Linked DNA regions of Homo sapiens: regions 1, 2, 3, 4, 5 and 7 are each linked to region 6. Evidence: promoter capture Hi-C in 16 types of primary human blood cells and fetal thymus (Javierre and others, 2016). All regions are on one chromosome and are shown on one strand. The core of a region is centred on a gene start or on the middle of the fragment in contact, and the rest is flanking DNA. Distances in the headings are between cores, read along the strand shown. Region 1 overlaps FNIP2 (folliculin interacting protein 2). Region 2 has its middle 260 kb from the start of MIR3688-1. Region 3 has its middle 290 kb from the start of MIR3688-1. Region 4 overlaps FNIP2 (folliculin interacting protein 2). Region 5 has its middle 270 kb from the start of MIR3688-1. Region 6 holds the start of RAPGEF2 (Rap guanine nucleotide exchange factor 2). Region 7 overlaps FNIP2 (folliculin interacting protein 2).

What was found. Contacts are between HindIII fragments. The CHiCAGO score rates a contact against its expected background, and 5 or more counts as called.
Region 1: a contact is called between a fragment that was not itself captured here and the fragment with the promoter of RAPGEF2 in region 6, in 13 of 17 cell types (total B cells, neutrophils, megakaryocytes and 10 more). The highest score is 12.5, in total B cells.
Region 2: a fragment that was not itself captured here is called in contact with the fragment with the promoter of RAPGEF2 in region 6 in 1 of 17 cell types (endothelial precursors); the score reaches 9.4 in endothelial precursors.
Region 3: a fragment that was not itself captured here is called in contact with the fragment with the promoter of RAPGEF2 in region 6 in 1 of 17 cell types (endothelial precursors); the score reaches 5.2 in endothelial precursors.
Region 4: a fragment that was not itself captured here is called in contact with the fragment with the promoter of RAPGEF2 in region 6 in 12 of 17 cell types (non-activated CD4 T cells, fetal thymus, naive B cells and 9 more); the score reaches 11.0 in non-activated CD4 T cells.
Region 5: a contact is called between a fragment that was not itself captured here and the fragment with the promoter of RAPGEF2 in region 6, in 1 of 17 cell types (endothelial precursors). The highest score is 6.8, in endothelial precursors.
Region 7: a fragment that was not itself captured here is called in contact with the fragment with the promoter of RAPGEF2 in region 6 in 13 of 17 cell types (non-activated CD4 T cells, naive CD8 T cells, total B cells and 10 more); the score reaches 19.4 in non-activated CD4 T cells.

The regions. Positions count from the first base shown.
Region 1 is chr4:158,814,237-158,816,956 of GRCh38, forward strand. The region is part of intron 1 of FNIP2 (folliculin interacting protein 2); the gene reads left to right. Among named protein-coding and RNA genes, the nearest start is that of FNIP2, 47 kb to the left of the region's middle. The HindIII fragment of the contact is 7,790 bases long and covers 1-2,720 here.
Region 2 is chr4:159,383,500-159,386,519 of GRCh38, forward strand. No RefSeq gene overlaps it. Among named protein-coding and RNA genes, the nearest start is that of MIR3688-1, 260 kb to the left of the region's middle. RefSeq lists enhancers at 1-177, 178-751. The HindIII fragment of the contact is 1,455 bases long and covers 835-2,289 here.
Region 3 is chr4:159,417,962-159,420,899 of GRCh38, forward strand. No RefSeq gene overlaps it. Among named protein-coding and RNA genes, the nearest start is that of MIR3688-1, 290 kb to the left of the region's middle. The HindIII fragment of the contact is 2,133 bases long and covers 419-2,551 here.
Region 4 is chr4:158,796,329-158,799,402 of GRCh38, forward strand. The region is part of intron 1 of FNIP2 (folliculin interacting protein 2); the gene reads left to right. Among named protein-coding and RNA genes, the nearest start is that of FNIP2, 29 kb to the left of the region's middle. The HindIII fragment of the contact is 4,816 bases long and covers 1-3,074 here.
Region 5 is chr4:159,400,915-159,403,689 of GRCh38, forward strand. No RefSeq gene overlaps it. Among named protein-coding and RNA genes, the nearest start is that of MIR3688-1, 270 kb to the left of the region's middle. RefSeq lists an enhancer at 409-1,608. The HindIII fragment of the contact is 2,281 bases long and covers 121-2,401 here.
Region 6 is chr4:159,101,778-159,104,477 of GRCh38, forward strand. RAPGEF2 (Rap guanine nucleotide exchange factor 2) reads left to right here and starts at 1,302. Exons shown (of 30, transcript NM_001394067.2): 1 at 1,302-2,454. The coding sequence starts at 2,386. RefSeq lists an enhancer at 452-1,143 and silencers at 792-1,331, 1,462-1,681, 1,722-2,011, 1,760-2,054, 2,022-2,441. The HindIII fragment of the contact is 5,553 bases long and covers 1-2,700 here.
Region 7 is chr4:158,777,189-158,780,088 of GRCh38, forward strand. All of the region lies in intron 1 of FNIP2 (folliculin interacting protein 2), which reads left to right. Among named protein-coding and RNA genes, the nearest start is that of FNIP2, 9.6 kb to the left of the region's middle. The HindIII fragment of the contact is 7,658 bases long and covers 1-2,900 here.

The DNA of each region.
Region 1 (2,720 bases), core at 56-2,555, 290 kb before region 6:
TGATAGTGCAGTCGAGTTGGATGAGCACAGAATTTAGAGCCAGGAGACTGATTTTAGTCCTGACTTAGCCACTTACTGGACATAACCTTGTTAAAGTCTCCTAACTTCCGTGTAAAACGTTATATAATACAGACTCTCACAGGACATTTGAGAAGGTCAGCTCAGTTGAATTCTGTAAAAGTGTTTGGTAAACTCTAAAATATTAGGCAATTATTTGTGCATGTGCTGTGCAGTTCTTATCACCAGCCTTCCCCTGCCTACATGCAAACACCAGACCTTCTGGAATTGGTGTCTCTAGGCTCTGCATGAATTATGCAGTAAAAAAGGCAGTTATTTAATATGATGGGAATCCATCTGATACACCACTAGAACAGCAATCATAAACTGAAAGACATACATGGGTTTAATCAATGAGAAAAGGGGTTGCTTTTTTAGAGAGAAACTTTCTCCTGTCTTTGGGGGAGGGAGGGGATGAAGGACAGGAAAATGTAGTGTACAAGTGTTGAGAAGAAAGCTCAATAAATGCCATTGTCTAGGCCAAACTACATATTTGAAAACTGAATCTGAATGCCTGGAATTCATTAAGGTGGTTTCCCTGTAGGAGTTCACCCACTGCCTCATGCTTTAGCTACCAAGAAGCCTCTTAAAGGAAACAGTAGTTAAGGGCTTGTCTTAAAGCAATGATAGATTCTTTGGGTTTAAAAAAATAGGGTGTTCCTGTTGTAGTCCTCATCTTTGTTGTTTGTTTTTACTTTTTCAAGAGACAATACAGTCACACGGCTTAATATTCAAAAGGCACAAAATTGTGGTGCATGTTTAGAGCACAGTCAGCGTGCCTGACTCCGTGTTAAGTGCTTTACATTTAGTCACCAAAACAGCACTTGTAAGGTTGGTACTATTATATTATCTCCATTTTGCAGATGAGGCTGTTGAGGAACAAAGAGATTAGGTAACTCACCAAAGTTACATAGCTAGGAAGAGGCAGAGGTAGGACCTGAGCCCAGGATGTCTGGGTCCAGTCTACACTCCTTCTCACTATGCTGTTTTGATGGATGTTTATTACATGGTGCAGAGAAAGCCTTTCCCTTTGCTCTGTAAAGAGTGTAGAATGAAAAGTCTTCTGCTTTCTTTTTCATCAGTAATCCAGCTTTTTTTTTTTTTTTTGAGACGGAGTCTTGCTCTCTCGCCCAGGCTGGAATGCAGTGGCGCCAGCTCCGCTCACTGCAAGCTCCGCCTCTCGGGTTCACGCCGTTCTCCTGTCTCAGCCTCCCGAGTAGCTGGGACTACAGGCGCCCGCCACCACGCCCAGCTAATTTGACGGGGTTTCACGTGTTAGCCAGGATGCTCTTGATCTCCTGACCTCGTGATCCGCCAGCCTCGGCCTCCCAAAGTGCTGGGATTAGAGGTGTGAGCCACCGCGCCCGGCCCAGTAATCCAGCTTTCTACTCCAGAGTCAACTAGTATTACCAATTCATTGTTTTTCTTCTAGAGATAGTCTATACGTGTATAATAAAACCCAGAGTTCTTTACCTCCAATTTTTCCTTTTTCTAGACTTATGGTAGCTTTCTATACACAATATTTTATACTTATTTTCGTTCCAGTCAAAAATATGTCTTGGAGTTTATTACATACTTACCTAAGGAGCTTCCTTATTCTTTGCTGTGTCAGTATAGCACTCCCTTGTATGGATGTACCATAATTTATTTAATCATCCTGCTGACAATTTGTTTCCAAACAGTGCTGCAGTCATTACCTTTTTGTACATAATCATTTTGTGCCTGTGCAAATTAATCTGTAGGATTCATTCCTAGAAGTGAACTTGCTGGGTCACGAGTATATATATATATATTTATTTTAACCTATCTCTTTTAGAGATAGTATTTTACAACCCAAAATAGGTGACAATTGTCTATTTATTTTGGTTCTTTCATCTTGCAAACGAGAGACCTTACACAGAGAATCATGCTTTTGACCTCTGGAAACTTCTTGGAAAATGGAAGTATTACCTTATCTGCATACGGTTTAATTAGATCTAGAAGTGAATAACATATAAGGCAATGTCTTGGGTATTTACTTTGAAATTTATTCCGTTGTCTATTATTAGTATATGATTTCCCAAAATGAGGGAGGGGAAAGATATGAAATCATCTTGATGCATGTTACCTTTTATAATTGCAGACCAATATGTATTTCAGTAATCCAGGAATATAATAATGTGTTGACGGCTTTGATTATGCTGACAAGGGTGTAAAAGAATTAGCTCGGCCAGGCGCAGTGGCTCATGCCTGTAATCTCAACACTTTGGGAGGCCAAAGCAGGCGGATCAGTTGAAGTCAGGAGTTCGAAACTAGCCTGGCCAACATGCTGAAACCCCCTCTCTACTAAAAATACAAAAAAATTAGCCAGGTGTGGTGGTGGGCGCCTGTAATCCCAGCTACTTGGGAGGCTGAGGCAGGAGAATCGCATGAACCCAGGAGGTGGAGGTTGCAGTGAGCCGAGATTGCACCACTGCACTCCTGCCTGGGAGACAGAGTGAGACTCTGTCTCAAAAAAAAAAAAAAAAATTAGCTCAGTGATTATTGAATTAATATATGCATGGAGATGAACAGTAAAGCTCTTTTTTTTTTGTCAGTTTGGCTATTTTTAAGTACAAGTAGTTTCTAGTTTATAGATATCAGAAAAGAATAAATAATGTGCATTTAAGAATTAAGGGAACCAT
Region 2 (3,020 bases), core at 312-2,811, 280 kb after region 6:
TGTTGGAAGAAAGTTTTTTTTTTTTTTTTCCTTACTGTCTTCACTCCCAAATGCACCCAGGTCAAAATTTAGCAACGCTTGGCTTGAAATGGCATCCATGTTTTGTTATGGTAATTTTTTATTTTTAAATGCAGAAGTGATTTAGTAGTAAAATCCTGCTTGCTGGTTAGAGGTCGTGGGAATGCCTCTCCATCTGAATGGAAAGAAATTGGTTTTAAATTATTAGATGGCCAAAGGCTTATAGAGAGTGGAGTTAGAGAAGCAGCTTATGACCTTCACCTACACTTGAACTGGAATGGTAATCTACATTTCCAAAGGCACTAAGCGTTCCAATTTAAATTTCTGTGGTGACACTTGAAAAGATTGATCATTCTATCCTGAGAGGAGATGAAGGAATGAGGGTGAGGGGTTATGAGCAGGCAACACTGCCTGCTCAGTAGGAGCTGACAATCAACTAGGATAGCCCCAATTTCCTGTTGCAATATTTAACTCACTTTTGTGTTTACATTTGATAAACACAAGTTTAGAGATTCAAGAATTAGAACATCTCTTGTCTCACTCCAGCTACAAATATTGATTAAAATGGGAAAGATTGTTTATTGTAAATTGCATTTATCTTCATGATGTGGGAACAATGTAGGTTTTCAATGAATGCTTCTTTGTGTGTGAAAGATATGTGAATAAACCAATTTCAATTTTTTTTTAATTTTTAATTATTAATTTTAAATTGACAATAATAATTGCATAATATTTATGTGGTACAATGATGTCTTAATGTATGTGTGCATTGTGGAATGAGCAGACCAGGCTAATTAACATATTCATCACCTCACAAGCTTATCATTTCTCTGCAGGGCAAACATTTATAAACTACTCTTTTGGCAATTTTAAAATATACAATACATTATTGTTAACTGTAGCCACTTTGATATGCAATAGATCACTAGAACTTATTCTTCCTAACTAAAACGGCCTAATTTCGAAATTCTGAAATCTTACTTTACATTTTACTTTGTATTTTTAGAATGTAATATCTTTGAAGGCAGTGATATGTTTCCTTCAAAGACTTTAATGAATGCAGTGTGTCAAAAATACACTGATTAATGTGGATACATAATAATGATGTCACAGTTTTGTCAGGCTCATAGTCTCCCCTATTGAATAACATAAACCTGAGAAAATGATGAGATAAAGCTGATTTTTTTCAAGATGAGAAGGAAGAAAATTTGGATATTTAAGAATTTAAAATAAAATGACAAATTAATCCTTCAGAATTATGTTTGAGAATGCTAAAAATTAGCCTTTCTTGAGTAAAAAACAAAAGTGTATGTCAGAAGAGACCTCTTGTGTGTATAATAGCTTACTGCAGTTTCTTTAAAAAAAAAAAATCCACTTCTGGAAGATAGAATGAATATACTATTCCCAAAGCCCAACCCTTAAGGAGGCCAATGCCTTATCCATTGAATGAATGTACTATTCCCTATTGCTTTCACAAAGTACAACTACAAACCCTAGACTTTACATATTAAACAAGCATATGATGACTCTGAAAGGTGGAGAAGGCTGACTGGCTGGAGACCACAGGACCAGAGGCAGTGTGTTCCCTGGGTTTTCTTTTTAACTCACATATCCCAGACTCATAGATAAAGAAACTCGTAACCCCGAAATACCAATGAATGCACGCCAAACAAAACAAAACAAAACAAAAATTACCAAAAGCCTGCCCTCTCCAGCTGAAAGAACAAGAGATGGGTAGCTAATGAGACAGATAATGATTAGACAGGCTGGGCGCAGTGGCTCACGCTTGTAATCCCAGAACTTTGGGAGGCCAAGGTGGGTGGATAGCTCGAGCTCAGGAGTTCAAGACCAGCCTGCTGGGCAACATAGCAAGACACCATCTCTATTTAAAAAAAATATATGTACACACACACACACACACACACACACACACACACACACATAAAAATACATATATGAGACAAAGATTGGACAATAACTGCTCCACTCCAGCCAAACACCACAGAAAAAATGTTAGCCCCACTCCCAGTGAAAGCTCAAGAGGAAGCAGACTTGCACTGTCCCCAGGATGTAATGGCAGTAGCACCAGCCTCCACCTCCCACTCTCTCACTGGACAAGTGTCAGAGAAAACTGAGTAGGGAGATGGAACTTTCATCCCTCTCATGCAGTGTCAGTGGATACCACATGGATTTCCACACCTATCCAGTGGTAATGAGATGCCTTTGCCCCTTCCTTCTAGGGTGGCCTCAAAGGAGACCTACTGGAGACAAAGCTTTCACCTAAGCCACTTCTCCAACATAATGTCAGGCCAAGAGGGGAGCAGTAATAAGGTTCTTCTACCCCTCCCAGCCAGGAGTAGAGGCTGAATGCGAAGCAGGACTTCCACTCTCACCTAACAGTCATGAGTAGCCCCTCCCCTCAGGTCTCAGTGGGAGCCAGGTGGGAACCTGAAACTTGACCTCATCTGGCAGTAATCAGGCAGCTCACTCCCCACTCCCATTTTCCTTTGCAAGAAATTTAAATAAGATCCCAAACCTCAATATAATACACAAATATCTAGGTTTTAATAGAAAAATCACTCATACCAAGAATAAAGAAGACCTCAAACTGAATGAAAAAAAGATAATAAATAGATCCTAACACTGAAACGACAGCAATGTTAGAATTATCTGATAAAGGTCTCAAGGAAATCATCATATGTTTCAGTAAGCATTATAAACATGCTTGAAACAAATAAAAAATAGACAGTATTATATCAGCAAAGAAATAAAAGATATACAAAAAGATAAATGAAAAGTTTAGAACTGAAAAATATAATAGCTAAAATTCAGTGAATGGACTCAAAACAGTATAGAGGGGACAGAGGAAAGAAATAATGAACTTGAAGATAGGACAATAGAAATTACCCAATCTGAAGAACAGAGAGAAAAAGATTGAAAAACAAACAAACAAAAAAAAAGAACAAACCTCAGGGAATTATGGGACTATAAAGATTTAACAT
Region 3 (2,938 bases), core at 235-2,734, 320 kb after region 6:
AGGAAATACAACAGGGTCAGGCAAGTGACTCATGCCTGTAATCCCAGCACTTTGGGAGGTCTTGGGGAGGTTGGATCATTTGTGGCCAGGAGTTTAAGACTAGCCTGGCCAACATGGCAAAACCCAATGTTTACTAAAAATAGAAAAAAATGTGCTGGGCAGAGTGGCACATTCCTGCAATCCCAGCTACTTGGGAGGCTGAGGCAGGAGAATTGCTTGAACCTGGGAGTCAGAGGTTGCAGTGAGCTTAGATCGCACCACTGCACTCCAGCCTGAGTGACAGAGTGAGACTCTGTCTCAAAAAACAAAACACAAAAAAACAAAAAACAAACCAACAACAACAACAAAAAAAACTAGAAGCCTACTAAGATTTCAAGGGAATTGTATTGCCAAAGAAATAACAAGCTTAGCTTGTAAAAGCTTGTTATTGCTGAATCCCAAACCAGTTCCAAAGTATGGCATACTGCCCAATCTACTTTAAATTTGGCCTTGGTAGTAACGGTTGAGAAAGTACCTTTTATTATGCACATCTGGGTCCCCAGAGGACATGAGAGTTATTTCCAGGTAGCAAACTGGGCTAAGCAGACTATTTCACTGCTACAGTAAATTCTTTGATTTTTCTGTCTAGCAGGATTTGATCACTCCTGTGCACCAGAGACCTCTCTGTATTTCCTACCTTTCCCTTATTGAATTGTTAAACAAAATGATAGGAAGCCATTGTTCTGAACTGACTTCTTGCACTAGGCGCTGACAGACCAAAACAAAATGAAACCATTCATGCTAAATGTTATGTGATCAAACTGAAACTTTTAAAAAGCAGATAAATCCCAAAATGGACCAGGTTTTTTTTTTTCTGTCTTCTTAAAACAGGAGATTCCAGCATAATAAGGAGGGCCCCTCTGCTCTATTCCTTACAAAAAGTAGTCTGAAACAACCATTTTTTCCCTATTGTTCTTTGTCCTTGTTCCCAGCTTACAAAACCCACTGTTCTATTTCCCAGTGGGATTTGAGACCAAATAAATGGATTTATAATGGTGAAAGAGTGAAGTCAATGCTTAAAGTTTTGGTCAATCTCTCAAAATTGCCTACAGCTACCTCCTTACATATTTTAAGTTCAGCCTAAATTTTCTCCATATATAGTGAACTATAATCCAGCTGAATGCATGAACAGACTGTAATCTACTCTTTTTTTTTTTTTGAGATGGAGTCTTGCTCTGTTGCCCAGGCTGGAGTGTAGTGGCGCGATCTTGGCTCACTGCAAGCTCCGCCTCCCAGGTTCATGCCATTCTCCTGCCTCAGCCTCCCAAGTAGCTGGGACCACAGACACCCGCCACCACACCCGGCTAATTTTTTTTTTTTGTATGTTTAGTAGAGACGGGGTTTCACCATGTTAGCCAGGATGGTCTGGATCTCCTGACCTCGTGATCCGCCCGCCTCGGCCTCCCAGAGTGCTGGGATTACAGGTGTGAGCCACCGTGCCTGGCCTGTAATCTACTCTTACACCAATCTCAGTTTTGGCCAGTCACAGGTGGTCAGCTGTTTAAACCATGTTCAAATAAAGCAAATGCCAGGCTGTAACCAATCTAACTGTTTCTGTACCTTGCCTTCTTTTTTCTGTCCTTAAGTATTATCTGACCATGTGGCATCCCCAGAGTTGTGCTGAACCTATTCTGAATTATTCTTTGCTCAGTTAAACTCTGTTAAATTTAATTATTTGCCTTAAGTTTTCCTTTTAACAAAAGTGGGAGTTTTATCATGGTTATCTTGTTTCTGCTCCATCCTTGGATATTGGATGTGGTGTGGAGTAGGGCAGGAAAATTGGGCAGATTAAAAATGTCTTTGGCCAAGCATGGTGACTCACACCTGTAAACTCAGCACTTTGGGATGCTGAGGTAGTAGGCTGTCTTGAATCCAGGAGTTCAAGACCAGCTTGGGCAACATAGTGAGGCCCCATCTCCATAAAAAATTTTTAAAAATTAGCCTGGTGTGATGGTGCACACTGGTAGTCCCAGCTACTCAGGAGGCTGTGGTGGGAGTATTGCTTGAGCCCAGGAGGTCGAGGCTGCAGTGAGCCATGATTGTGCCACTGCACTCCAGCCTGAGTGACACAGCGAGGGAGGAGGAAAGGAAAATAGTTTGGCAGACAGCTAAAGTTGGTCTTTGGTAAAATTCTTTTAAACAGAAAGACATCCTGAAGAATCAACCTACAGGCACGCATAAAGCCACCTGGGGAAATCTCAGGCTGTAGCTGCACAGATAAGAAAGCAAGGCCTAACATAGAAGCCTTCATTCTTAGTGTAATTGTGGGCTCCCAGGAAAAAGTTTCCTCCCCTTTTCAGGTATGTACACAGTGGGCTCTGGGGGAACTTGCATGGGGAGCAGGGGTTCTTACTCAAAACATACACACCATTGCACAAACAAGAGAAACTGCACTTTGTGCCTGCCTAAAGACGTGCTTTCAGCTGTACAGATAAGGGGAGTTACACAGACAGCTTCACAGATAAGGGAAGTTACACAAACAGCTGCAGAAATGAGGGGAGTTTCTTACAAAAGCTTTTGGATTCAGCTATAAAAATGGCAACCCACTTTTGGGCCCCCTCTCCGCTGCAGAGAGCGTTCTTTTGTTTATTAAACTTTCGTTCCAACTTCATCCTTGTGTCTATGCACCTTAATTTTCTTGGCCGTGAGACAAAGAACTCCAGGTACTACCTCAGACAACAAGACCGTAACATTGTAGTGCATTGGCAAGACCGCAACAACAGCAATGAGGGCTGACAACGTGCTAGCAGCCCTCGCTCGCTCTCAGCACCTCCTTGGCCTCGGTGTCCACTCTGGCCCCACTTGAGGAGCCCTTCAGCCCCCCACTGCGCTGTGGGGGCCCCTCTCTGGGGCTGACCGAGGGTGGAGCCAGCTCCCTCTGCTTGTGGGGAGGCGTGGA
Region 4 (3,074 bases), core at 523-3,022, 300 kb before region 6:
GAATACCTTATGTTAATTTGAAAGATAATTGTTCCACAGATATAATTTTCTAACTGTTGTGCTAATTTGTTCTAGAGCTTATTGTTCCCAAGGAACTTTGTGATGAGTCTATCTCAGAGTGTTTAATTGCCTGGAGCTTCCAGAGAATTGGCTATGTTTTTGGGGGAGGGAAGATGGGGTGGGAAGGTGATTGACCTTCTTGGGCAAAATCATTATTTGCCAGGTATCATTGTGGCCAAAGTTATTTATCTTGGCTTCATGTTGTATAAATACAGTGCAATCATCTATGAGTTTAGCAACTCAAATAGGACAGTGAGTACTTTTGGGCTTGTGTATATAAAAATTAACACGTCGCATTTGTCTAGAATTTTATAGTTTTTCAAAGGGATTTTCAAATGCTCACATTTAACATCTCCAACAATTCTTGTCTATTTATGGTTAAGGAAACTGAGGCCCAGAGAGTCTAGTGTCTTTCCCCAAAGTCACATAGGTAGTGGATGACTAGGCCAGAACTAGACTTAACTCTTGCCTTGTCGTCCAAGGTTCTGTTCCCTGGTATGACACCCTCTCTCAGCAGGGACCCTGCTGACAGTGACTACGCGCTGGTGGCTGGCGTCTCCTGAGTTCCTTGTACTCAGCCTGATCATGAGGAACTGACTCAGAGAAATGAGAGTCTGCTGATTCAGAGCTGAATATCCTTTCCCAGTCTTTCATTTCCCAGCTTTCTCTTCTCCTAAATTGATTTCTGTCAGCTCCCAAGCAGCTTTCTTAGTTGTCGTAGCTATTAGAACTCTTAGAGCACTTTAAGAGTCTTTCTGACTTAATTTACTAGCAATGAATGTATTGCATGAGAAACCTTTAATTATAGCTATATTTTGGGTAGGTATCACTATTTTTGCCTGTCAAACCAAAACTGAAGGAGAACTGTCACTAACTTAACCTCTACATAGATTTCCTTTAATAATTCTCATTGACTTTGTTATTCTGTTATACACATTGACTTCCATTGAATGGATTTGTAGCAGGCCAAGAATGAGTGAGATACCAGTACGAAGGCTATTACGGTAGTCCTGGCAAAACACTGGGCTTTGCTGGGCATGGTGGCTCACACCTATAATCTTAGCGCCTTGGGAGGCTGAGACGGGCAGATTGCTTGAGCCCAGGAGTTTGAGACTAGCCTGGGCAACATGGTGAGACCCCATGTCTACAAAAAACACAAACATTAGCCAGGTATGGTGGCGCATGCCTGTAGTCCCAGCTACTCAGGAGGCTGAGGTGGGAGGATTGTTCGAGCCTAGAGGTCGAGGCTGCAGTGAGGTGTGATCTTGCCACTGCACTCTAGCCTGGGTGTCAGAGCAAGACCCTGTCTCAAAACAAAACAAAACAAAACAAAAAACCCCAAATCCACCAGGCTTCGATTAGGGTGGTAGCAGTGGAATTTGGGATGGAAGCTGCCATCTCTCCACTGGCATGAGTCAAGAGGGAGCCAGGAGTGCCACAGGCTCCAGAGAAAACTTCTTGCCCAGCCTTCCTATCACTAGTGTTGAGAGAAGAGAGGGGCTTCTGGCAAGACCTTCTCCCACACCACTGGGAGACCTGTTACTCCATCACCACATCTGCTTTGAGACTGTTGGCACACTAATTTCATTTTCCTCTTTATCCTGTTTACAACTATTTACACTGACAGCCTTTAAAACACCAAGGCTTCTAGGTTTTTTTGTTTTTGTTTAAATTTTTGTTGTTGTTGTTTTTTAGAGACAGGGTCTTGCCCTGTCACTCAAGCCAAAGCGCAGTGGTGTGATTATAGCTCACCGCAGCCTCAAACTCCTGGGCTCAAATGATCCTCCCACCGCAGCCTCTTGAGTAGTTAGCATTACACGCACGCACCACCATGCCTGATTACTTTTAAATTTCTTACAGAGACAGGGTCTTGCTGTGTTGCCTAGGGAGCTCTCAAACTCTTAAACTGAAGTGATCCTCCCACCTCGGCCTCCCAAAGTGCTGGGATCACAGACGTGAGCTACCACACCTGGCCCTTCTAGATTTTTTCTTAATCCAAGTCTTTACTCTCCATATATAAGAGATGGATAATTAGATAAGTTTCCCTCCCACTGAATATTCCCTATTGCTTACCCTTCCCCTGCTTCATCTTCTGCTATAGCACTCACCATTTGTTTTGGCACACTGAATATTTTTCTGAATTATTGATTTTCTTCTGCCACTATCATGTAAACTTCATAAAGGTGGCAGGGGTTTGGTTCATGTATCATCAGCATCCTAACAGGGTCTGGCACATGAAATATTTGAAAAGATGAAGTGAGTGGAGTTTTAAGTCTTTAGATAGCACATTTTAAAAGTGAGTTCATAAATTATTCTACAAAAGCAATGAAATGCCTTTATAAACTGGAAGAATGTCAGATGTTCTTTGTTTTGTTTAATCCCATTTGGTGGCTTGTGTAATTATAACACAGATTAATGAATAACTCTTAGTAATTCCAAAATTACCCTAATGGCAATAATATGTATTTGTATGATGCCATTTACAGTAGCCTGAATGAATTTTTTATTCCTCTGTCAGATAAATAGTTGTATCTCAATGTTATAAATGTTAAAAATTATAAATGCTTAAAAATGTTGTAAATGTAAGAGAGAAGGCTATTCACAAAAACATTCCTTTCCAGGAAAACAGAGACCAGTCTAGTGTGAGACATAGGTGTGTAGTTGGTTAGAGCAAGGCATATGAGAAGGTACAGAATGATGAGAAGGTTTTACCTTCATGCCCATGAGGTGGCTAAATTGTCAGTAGTAGTTTTGGGCATGTGAGCTGCTGCTTCTCAATACTGACAGCATTTTAGGGGACTGGACTTTGTACAGCTCTGCATTGCCTGCTGAGGAATCCAGGCATCAGCAACAGAAAGTTCCAAAGCATTAACAGAAGATTTAATTATGTTATAGCTGTACATCCAAATGGAAGGGAGCTGGAGATAGCCAAGAGTTCTCTGCTAGGTGTTTTTCAGACATGCTTCTCATGAATTAAATAATTTTAGTCCTGATGTGGAGATTGGGAGCACTGA
Region 5 (2,775 bases), core at 11-2,510, 300 kb after region 6:
TTCACACGCGCCCCCGCTCCACCTCCCACCCTGCAGAACTGCTGCTGGCTGGACGCTGGCTGCACCTTCTCGTTGAGAACAGCTGCTGGCTATTTCCTCATTTCTAAACTTCCGAGGACAAGCTTGGAGTGCAGCTAAGCCTTTGGAGATGCTGCAGCTACTGTTCTGATCCTGGGAGGTGCATTTCTGAGGCGGACAGTCAGCACTGACAAGACAAGTTGGAGGGAACGAGCTGGCTGAGGGCTGGGGAGCAGCCCCTCTCCTTGGAAGAACTCTGATGGGAAACAGATGCTAAGAAGGGATTTATGGTTTATTCCAAGGACAGATGAGATAAGTTGTGGATGCACATGATTTTGTGGGGGAAGCAGGGGAGACCCAAGCGGGACACAGCCAGCCTAGCCCGTCAGCAATGAGAAAGTGTCCTTGGGTCTAGATGGGTGTGCCTGGGAGCAGGGCTTGGATCTTAGGCATTGACGGTCACCATCTGCAGGACAGGGGCCACCAGTCCATGGATATCTGATCTTCTTAGGGTCCCTGGAAACAAGGGGGACAAAATGCCTGAAGGCTTCCTGCTGCTCACTCCTCCCCTCTGAGTCCCTCTTCCTGACCTGCTCCACACCCTCTGTTCTTCCTCTCCCGCCTGCTTCTCTTTTCTTGCCTTCTCTCCACCCCTTCTTGAGTCTGCTCTGTTTATTTCATTTCCTTTTTAAAATGTTGTCAGCATCCTTTAGCTAAGGACAGCCATCAGTATCACTATTCTGTGTTATTTTTCTCAGGTAAAATGCTATTTTGTTTAGTAACCAACCCTGCCCAGCCCCCCACTCCCCGTCATGCTTCCTCTATTTTTACCCCGCACAGCCAGCAGCAAGACTGGGGCAGGAATACAGAGAGCACTCTGGGTTCTCCCCCAGCCTGAGGCCCTCCCTCGGCAGGACCCAAGGAGCACTACACAGCCCAAGGGCTCTGATAATCCACCAGGCCCCATCCCTCCATTCTCTCTTTGTCTCCGATACAAATTGCCTGGCACCAGTGCCCTAGAGCAGGCTATAATGAGAGGTGATTATCCCATCCCTGCAGGAGAGCCCTGGGACAAATCCTCCAGCACTTATGGACCTGTTTACTTCAGTTACTACTGAAAGTCCAAGTCCAAGCCTTCAAGGTCAACCTTCATTACTCCTACCGTTTTTCCCATGGGGTTCAGAACATTCTCTCATCCGACTCATGCTCCCACACCTCTGTGACCCTCAGTCATTCCTCTGAGCCTCTGGAATTCAGAGTGTGTCATCAGTACAATTTCCTGTCTTCGTTCTCATCTGGGAACATTTCCTTCACCTTCTTGTTTAACTCTGAGCTTTCCCATGCAGCCACTATTACCCATATGTGGCTGTTGAACACTTGAAATGTGACTAGTCCAGATTGAGATGCGGTATCAGCATAAACACATACTGGATTTTGAAGACTTCATATGAAAAAAGGAACTTAAACTATCTTGAAGGATACTTAGGTGGGTATAAGATTCTGTGCTGACGGGGCGCGGTGGCTCATGCCTGTAATCCCAGCACTTCGGGAGGCTGAGGTGGGCGGATCACCTGAGGTCAGGAGTTTGAGACCAGCCTGGCCAACATGGCGAAACCCCATCTCTACTAAAAATACAAAAAATAGCCGGGCTTGGTGGTAGGCACTTGTAATCCCAGCTATTCAGGAGGCTGAGGCAGGAGAATCACTTGAACCCAGGAGGCGGAGGTTCCAGTGAGCTGAGATTAGTAATTAACTAGGCCCAATGCACCACTGCACTCCAGCCTGGGCAACAAGAGAGAAACTCCGTCTCAAAAAAAAAAAAAAAAAAAAAAAAAAAATTCTATGCTGTCAGTTCTTTTCTTGTAGCCCTTCAAAAATGTGGTTGTCACTTCCTTTTGGTCTCCATGGTTTCTCATGACAATATGTTGTCTATATTGTATTAAGTAAAATATGTTATTAAATTGTTTACCTATTTCTGTTTGATTTAAAGAAATGTGGCTAGTAGAAAATTTAAAATTATGTATGTGGTTCACATTATATTGCTATCAGATAGTGCTGCTTTGGCCAGGTGTGATGGCTCATGACTGTAATCTCAGCACTTTGGGAGGTTGAGGCAGGAGGATTGCTTGAGGCTAGGAGTTCGAGACCAGCCGGAGCAACAAAGTGAGACTGTCTCTACAAAAAAATAGCCCATGCCATTCTGTAGTCCTAGCTACTTGGGAGGCTGAGATGGGAGGATTGCTTGAGCCCAGGAGATTGTGGCTGCAATGAGCTATTATTGTGCCACTGCACTCCAGCCTGGGTGACAACAGAGCAAGACCCTGTCTCAACAACAACAACAACAACATAGTGCTGCTCTGACTGAGGTCTGGCTGCCCTTGAAAGCTTAGCTTCTTCAGAAGCCCTCTCACACATGGCTGGTCCTTTCCTCATGCTCTCTGTTCAGACAAGGCCTAGAGGTGGGGCAGGTAGCTCCTGGCTCCCCATTGCTCTTTCCAAGCCATTGGTCATAGTATTTCCTAAAACAGTTTTGATCTTCTGAAACTCATGCCATCAAACTAGACCTGCCTTTACCTCTTCACATTGCAATTCTCTACCATTCTCCTGGTTACTCCTTCCCCTCTTATTGACGATCTTCGTGTCCGGTTCACTGTTGTTCCTACCATCTTGACTCTGGGCATCATTCTTGTCATTGGCATGCCCCTAGATAGTCCATCAACACCCTGGCCTCTCTGTTCACTGTTTTCCTCACTTATA
Region 6 (2,700 bases), core at 52-2,551:
GAAGCAGTTCCAGCAAGAGTAATATAAAAAGGTCTACAGATACAATTTGTAACTCAGATTCCCTTTCACAAGGTTGGGCAGGGACAGTCCCTTTGCTAGGAAGTCACACAAGCTGTTTAGTGCACACAGGTGACTTAAGGAACCCCAAAATGTTAGCTGACAATCTATTCCAAGTGTTTAAACTAGATGTTGAAAATCATGTTTGAAAAGTTCAACGCAGTAGCTCATACATAAAACTCATTGTGTCTATAGATATCAAAATAAGAACTTGTGGGGGGTGGGGGCAAACAAAAATAAATCCCTGGGACCAGAACAGCAGAGTGGTCCCCGATGCTTGGGCTGACCTTAACACACCTCTACGTGGCCGGGGCAAGGAGTGGGGGGGAGCTGAGGGAATCAGCAGGAGCGGTGACATCTTGAAGGACGAGGTATTGTTTCTGCACCATGTGGGTCCGGTTTGGAAATTTGAGCATCTAGAGGAGGAGGCTTGTTCTGTCCAAGGCAAAGCCAGACCTACCAATAAATGTTTCTGATTATGTCACAGAACTTGCCATCCTGGTCTGTCGCTAAGGAGTGATCAACTTTAAATCTGGAGTGTTTGTTGGTCTAGGGGTGGTAGTGGGTCTGGTGTTGAAACCTCTCTGCCTAATTTCGTGGTCATTTTACTGTCTGAGGTGCCAGAGTGGGCTTGGAAAGCAGGGGAGGGTGCAGCAAATTACAAATAAGCAAAATAAATCCTAAGAGGATTTATCGCCACAGAAGCAACTCGGACGCAACTCTTGGGCTCAAAAAGAATGCCCAGTACAGCCCGGGCTGGTGGGCCGGTCTTTTGCCCAAGGTTAGCTTTCAGCCCCTGGGCGGCGGCGTGGCGCCAGGAGCGGGCGGGGAGCAGCGACCCGACGCGGCTGGGTCTCCTAGTAGGGCGCGTCGGGTGTGGGGAGGGGGCGCGGCGTGAGACAGTGGGGGACACTGCGTGAGGAAAGCCCTGCGCTTCTCTCCGGGGCACCAGGACTTGCGCCCCCTCTTCGGGTCCAGGCCGCGCGCGGGACCCGACAGCCCGGCCGAGGGCTCCGCGACCCACTTGCGGCCAGAGCGCTGCTCACCTGGGCGCCGCCGAAGGTGCCGCTCAGACGCGAGGGCGCGGCCGCTGGCGGGCGGGGAGCGGGGAGGCGGGACCCGGCGCGACGGGGCTGCCCCGCCCCCCGATGATGCGGCGGCCGCCGACTCGCCCCCACGCTGTCACTCATTCCTCACCATGGTTGCAGCACAAAGCAACAAGCCCCAGAGGCCGCTTCCTCCCTGAGGAGCGGCTCCGGCGGCCGGAGAAGGCGCAGGAGGAGGAAGAGGCGGAGGAAGAGGAGGGGAATCGCCGCTTCCCAAACACTCTCTCCGAGGGGGCTGTGCGCGGCTCTCGGCTTTCGGCCCTCGGACGCCCGCGCCGGGAGTCCGAACCCGGGCTGTCCGCGGCCCCCTCTTCCCCCTCCTCCGCCCCGCGCAGACGAGGAACAAAGTTGCCGAGAGCGACTGGGCCGGAGGGCTGCAGCCCGGGCCGGGTGCTCTGGCCGCGGCGGCGCCGGCGCCGGGGCAGCTCCGCTCCGGGCGCGCTGATGGGGGGAGGCGGCGGCGGCGGAGCCCACAGCGGCGGCCCGAGCAGCAGAGGCGGCGGCGGCGGCGGCTGGGCGGCCCGAGGGGATGCAGCAGCAGTCGGGAGGGACGGCCGAGCCCAGTAGACAGAGACCAGGAGCGGCGGCCGAGGCGATCGGGCTTCGCAGCGCCCGGACCTGAGCCAGACCCACCTGGTCCGTCCTCCCGACCGGCGGCCGAGGCGCCCGAGGACTGGGGACGCGGAAGATCCAAGTGATTCTCGGAGACCCCTGGGCGGCGGCTGCGCAAGCCCCTGAGAGGAGGGGGCGACCCTCAGCGCCGTGGGGGAGGAGGCTCCGCCTGCCCACAGCCCTCCCCACTGCCACTCGTACCTCCCTAAAAATAACTCGGGCCCGCTGGGGCCAGGAGGAGCCGCCACTGTCCCCCGAGTGGAGCCGGGGAGGCGTGTCGAGCCAGGGCCGGAGGAAGCCGGCGGAGCGGCGAGGAAGAGGAGGAGGAGGAGGAAGGGGAGTTCCGCCTGCGGGCCGCATCGCACGGCAGCCTAGGGGCGCCGCGACCCTCCCGGCTGCGTCCAGCCCCTCGCGCCTGTACCGCGCTCTCGGCCGCCGGGCCCAGCCGAGCCGCCCCCCCGCGGGCCCCGCGCCGCCGCCGCCGCGGTTTGGCTGATTAGTCGCGGGCGGGCGGGCGGGCGCAGCGCGCAGGGCGGAGGCAGCAGCGGCGCTGGGCCGGGAGGAGGCCGGCCAGGGTGCGGAGCGGCCCCGGCCCGCTCCCAGAGGGGAGATGGCGTCCTACGTAGATAACAGCTTCCGCCAGGCGGTGATGAAGAATCCCCCCGAAAGGACCCCCCAGGTGAGAACGCGGCGGCCGCCTGCCCTTGGCCGGATTTCTGCCTCGCAGGCTGCGTCTTCCCCTGTCCCCCCACCTCCTTCCTGACACAGTTCGCCCCGAGCACCCCACTTCTTGCATCAGGACCCCCAACTTCCAAAGGCATCCCACCTCCGAGTCTTTTACTCCGCCTATCCTGGTTTTATTTTTCCCTCTCCTTGACATTCTGCTCCTTAACTCTTCCCTCCCCATGACTGACCTTTCCCACTA
Region 7 (2,900 bases), core at 157-2,656, 320 kb before region 6:
AGAACTCTTCTCTATATACTTTTCAGATTCATTTGAATTCTTGTATGGCTTGGTAAAACTGAAATACATTATGGAATGAAATGAGCAAATTGGTTCTCTCAAATTTAAGATAATAGTACACTTAATTGTGAAAACAATATTGATATTCTGAACCCTGCGAAGACTATATTTGCATGTTAAATGAAGTAAGCACTTTAGAAAAAAGATGGAATCATCTCTGCTTTCCATGTATGATTTTTCCATTTGAGAAACTAATTTAGAAATGGATTTGCGAATCTGACATGTTCTTTAAAAAGAATGTGCCAGACTAACATATCATTAATGGTGGCCTACCCTGTGTGAGGAGGTGAGCCATGAGTAAACATTTTCTCCAAGCATATCAGGCAATGACTGTTTGCTTTAGAATGGTACATTGAGTAAGTTAGTTGCTAGGGCAGAAGGGGGCGGCCGGAACTACTGGCCCTGCCCTACCCAGAGGGCAGAGATGGACCCCTGGTAGCCACTTGGTGCTGAGTGCACAGGCTCCACGGAAGACCATGTGGACGCTGGTAACTGGCCCTGCAGTGGGGTTGCCATATATTGCTTAGTGCCATGTGTACCTGAGAAATTGCTTATACATGAAATTATGATTTTATTTTAAGATTTTTTCAAACATATCTGGTTAAAAGTTCATATAAAATATGTTGAAATGTAAGCCTTTTCACACCCCAATCCCCCTTCCCAAAGGCTACCATTGCTGTACCAGTTTCTTTCGTATCCTTTTGGAAATACTCTATGCAAATACAGGAAAAAAAATTCTTTCCCTCAGACAGAGTGGTAGTTGCTGCCTACACTGTTCATCATTTTGCTAAAAGTTGCTTTGTATTCCTTTGAATAAATTCATGTATAACACTTAACCCAGTAGTTCTCAAGTCTGGTCAGACACTAAAGTCACCTAGAGAGCTTTAAATGTCCAGACTGCTTCTCAGAGATCTTGATTTAATAGATCTGGGCTGGGGCTTTATGTTTGTCTTCATGAAACTCTCCTTGGGTAATTTGCATATGCAGCCAAGCACACTACAATAGTCTTCCCTTATCTGAGGTTTCACTTTCTGCTGTCAACCTCAGTCTGACAATATTAAATCAAAAATTCAAGAAATGGAGCAACTCTGGGTGCACTGCCTGTGAGTTAGCTCTGCTCTGCAAGGAGCAGTACCATTTAAAAAAGAAGAAAGAAGATTCCAGAAATAAACAATTCCTAAGTTTTGAATTGCACACCATTCTGAGTAGCACAATGGAATCTCCACTGTCACTTCATCTTATCATATAGGCATTTGTCATCTCACATCATCTCAAGGAGAAGGAGGGTGACTATAGTATGATGAGATATTTCCTGAGAAAGAGATCACGTTCGCATAACTATGATTATAGTATATTATAATTGTTCTATTTTTATTATTAGTTATTGTTGTTAATCTCTTACTGTGCCTAATTTATAAATTAAACTTTATCATAGGTATGTATGGGAAAAAACATAGTATATACAGGGTTTGGCATTAAGCACTGTTTCAGGCATCCACTGGAAGTCTTGAAAGGTATCGCCTGTGGATAAGAGGGCACTACTGTAATTTTACCAGTCCTCTACTGATGGAGTATTTACTTTCAGGCTTTATTGTTAGAAATGGTGAACTTCCTGGTTGAAAGATTCTTATGCCATAAGCTCAAGTATATTTCCAGGATGAGAACCCAGGTTGGAATTTCTGCCAAACCGCACTCCAGAGAGGTTGCACCTGTTTATACGCCTACTAACAGCATATGATAGCGGCTGTTTAGTGGAGATGATTTAAAGTACCCTGAAGAAATAGCAGTGGTAGGGTGGTGGGGAAACTTGGACCCTAGCTCATTCTTAGTAGTTGTTGATCACTTGTCTAGTTCAACATGTGTGCAGATTGTTAAACTCTTTTACAGCTCAATTTGGCTGTGCTTTCCAGACTTAAAAATGCTCATACTTTTTTGACTCAGTAACTTAAGAGAAAAAACTTTTGTGCATGAAAATGTTTAAAAAAACAAATGTTTGTGCACAAAGATGTTCTTTATATATTATCATTATAATGTTAAATAAAAGGATCTTAACAATTGTCCAGCAGCAGGGAAGTATCTAAATTGTTATGTCAGCTTTGTAGGATAGTAATATAATAGTTAAATGATTATGAAGACAGTGTTAATATAAAATGTTTATGTTAAATGAAAACAACCAGCAACAGTTGGTATCTACAAGATGAATATATTAGTAAAATATGCAAATGTATGACCAAGAACTAGAAAGAAAAACAGAAAAATAATAAAGAACAGTTGACATTATGGGGTGATGAGATTGTGGGTAAATATCCTTTGTTGGTCGTGGTTTTTTTTTTTTTTTTTGAGATAGAGTCTCACTCTGTCACCCAGGCTGGAAGCAGTGGTACAATCACAGTTCACTGTAGCCTCAACCTCCCGGGCTTAAGTGACCCTCCCACCTCAGCCTCCCAAGTAGCTAGGACCACAGACAGGCATGCACCACCATACCCACCTTTTTTTTTTTTTTTTGTAGAGACGGGAGCGGGGGTGGTCTCACTGTGTTGCCCAGCGTAGTCTTGAACTCCAGGGCTCAAGTGATTCCCCCACCCTGAGCCTCCCAAAGTGCTGGGATTACAAGCATAAGCCACCTTGCCTGACCATAAATATCCTATAAAATGTGTGGGCAAAAAATAAAAATTAGAGGCCAGGCACGGTGGCTCATGTTTGTAATCCCAGTACTTTGGGAGACTGAGGTGGAAGGATCTCTTGAGTCCAGGAGTTTGAGACCAGCCTGTCAACAAAAGGAGACCCCATCTCTACAAAATAAAAAATAAAAAAAAAACTAGCTAGGCACATGCCTGTGG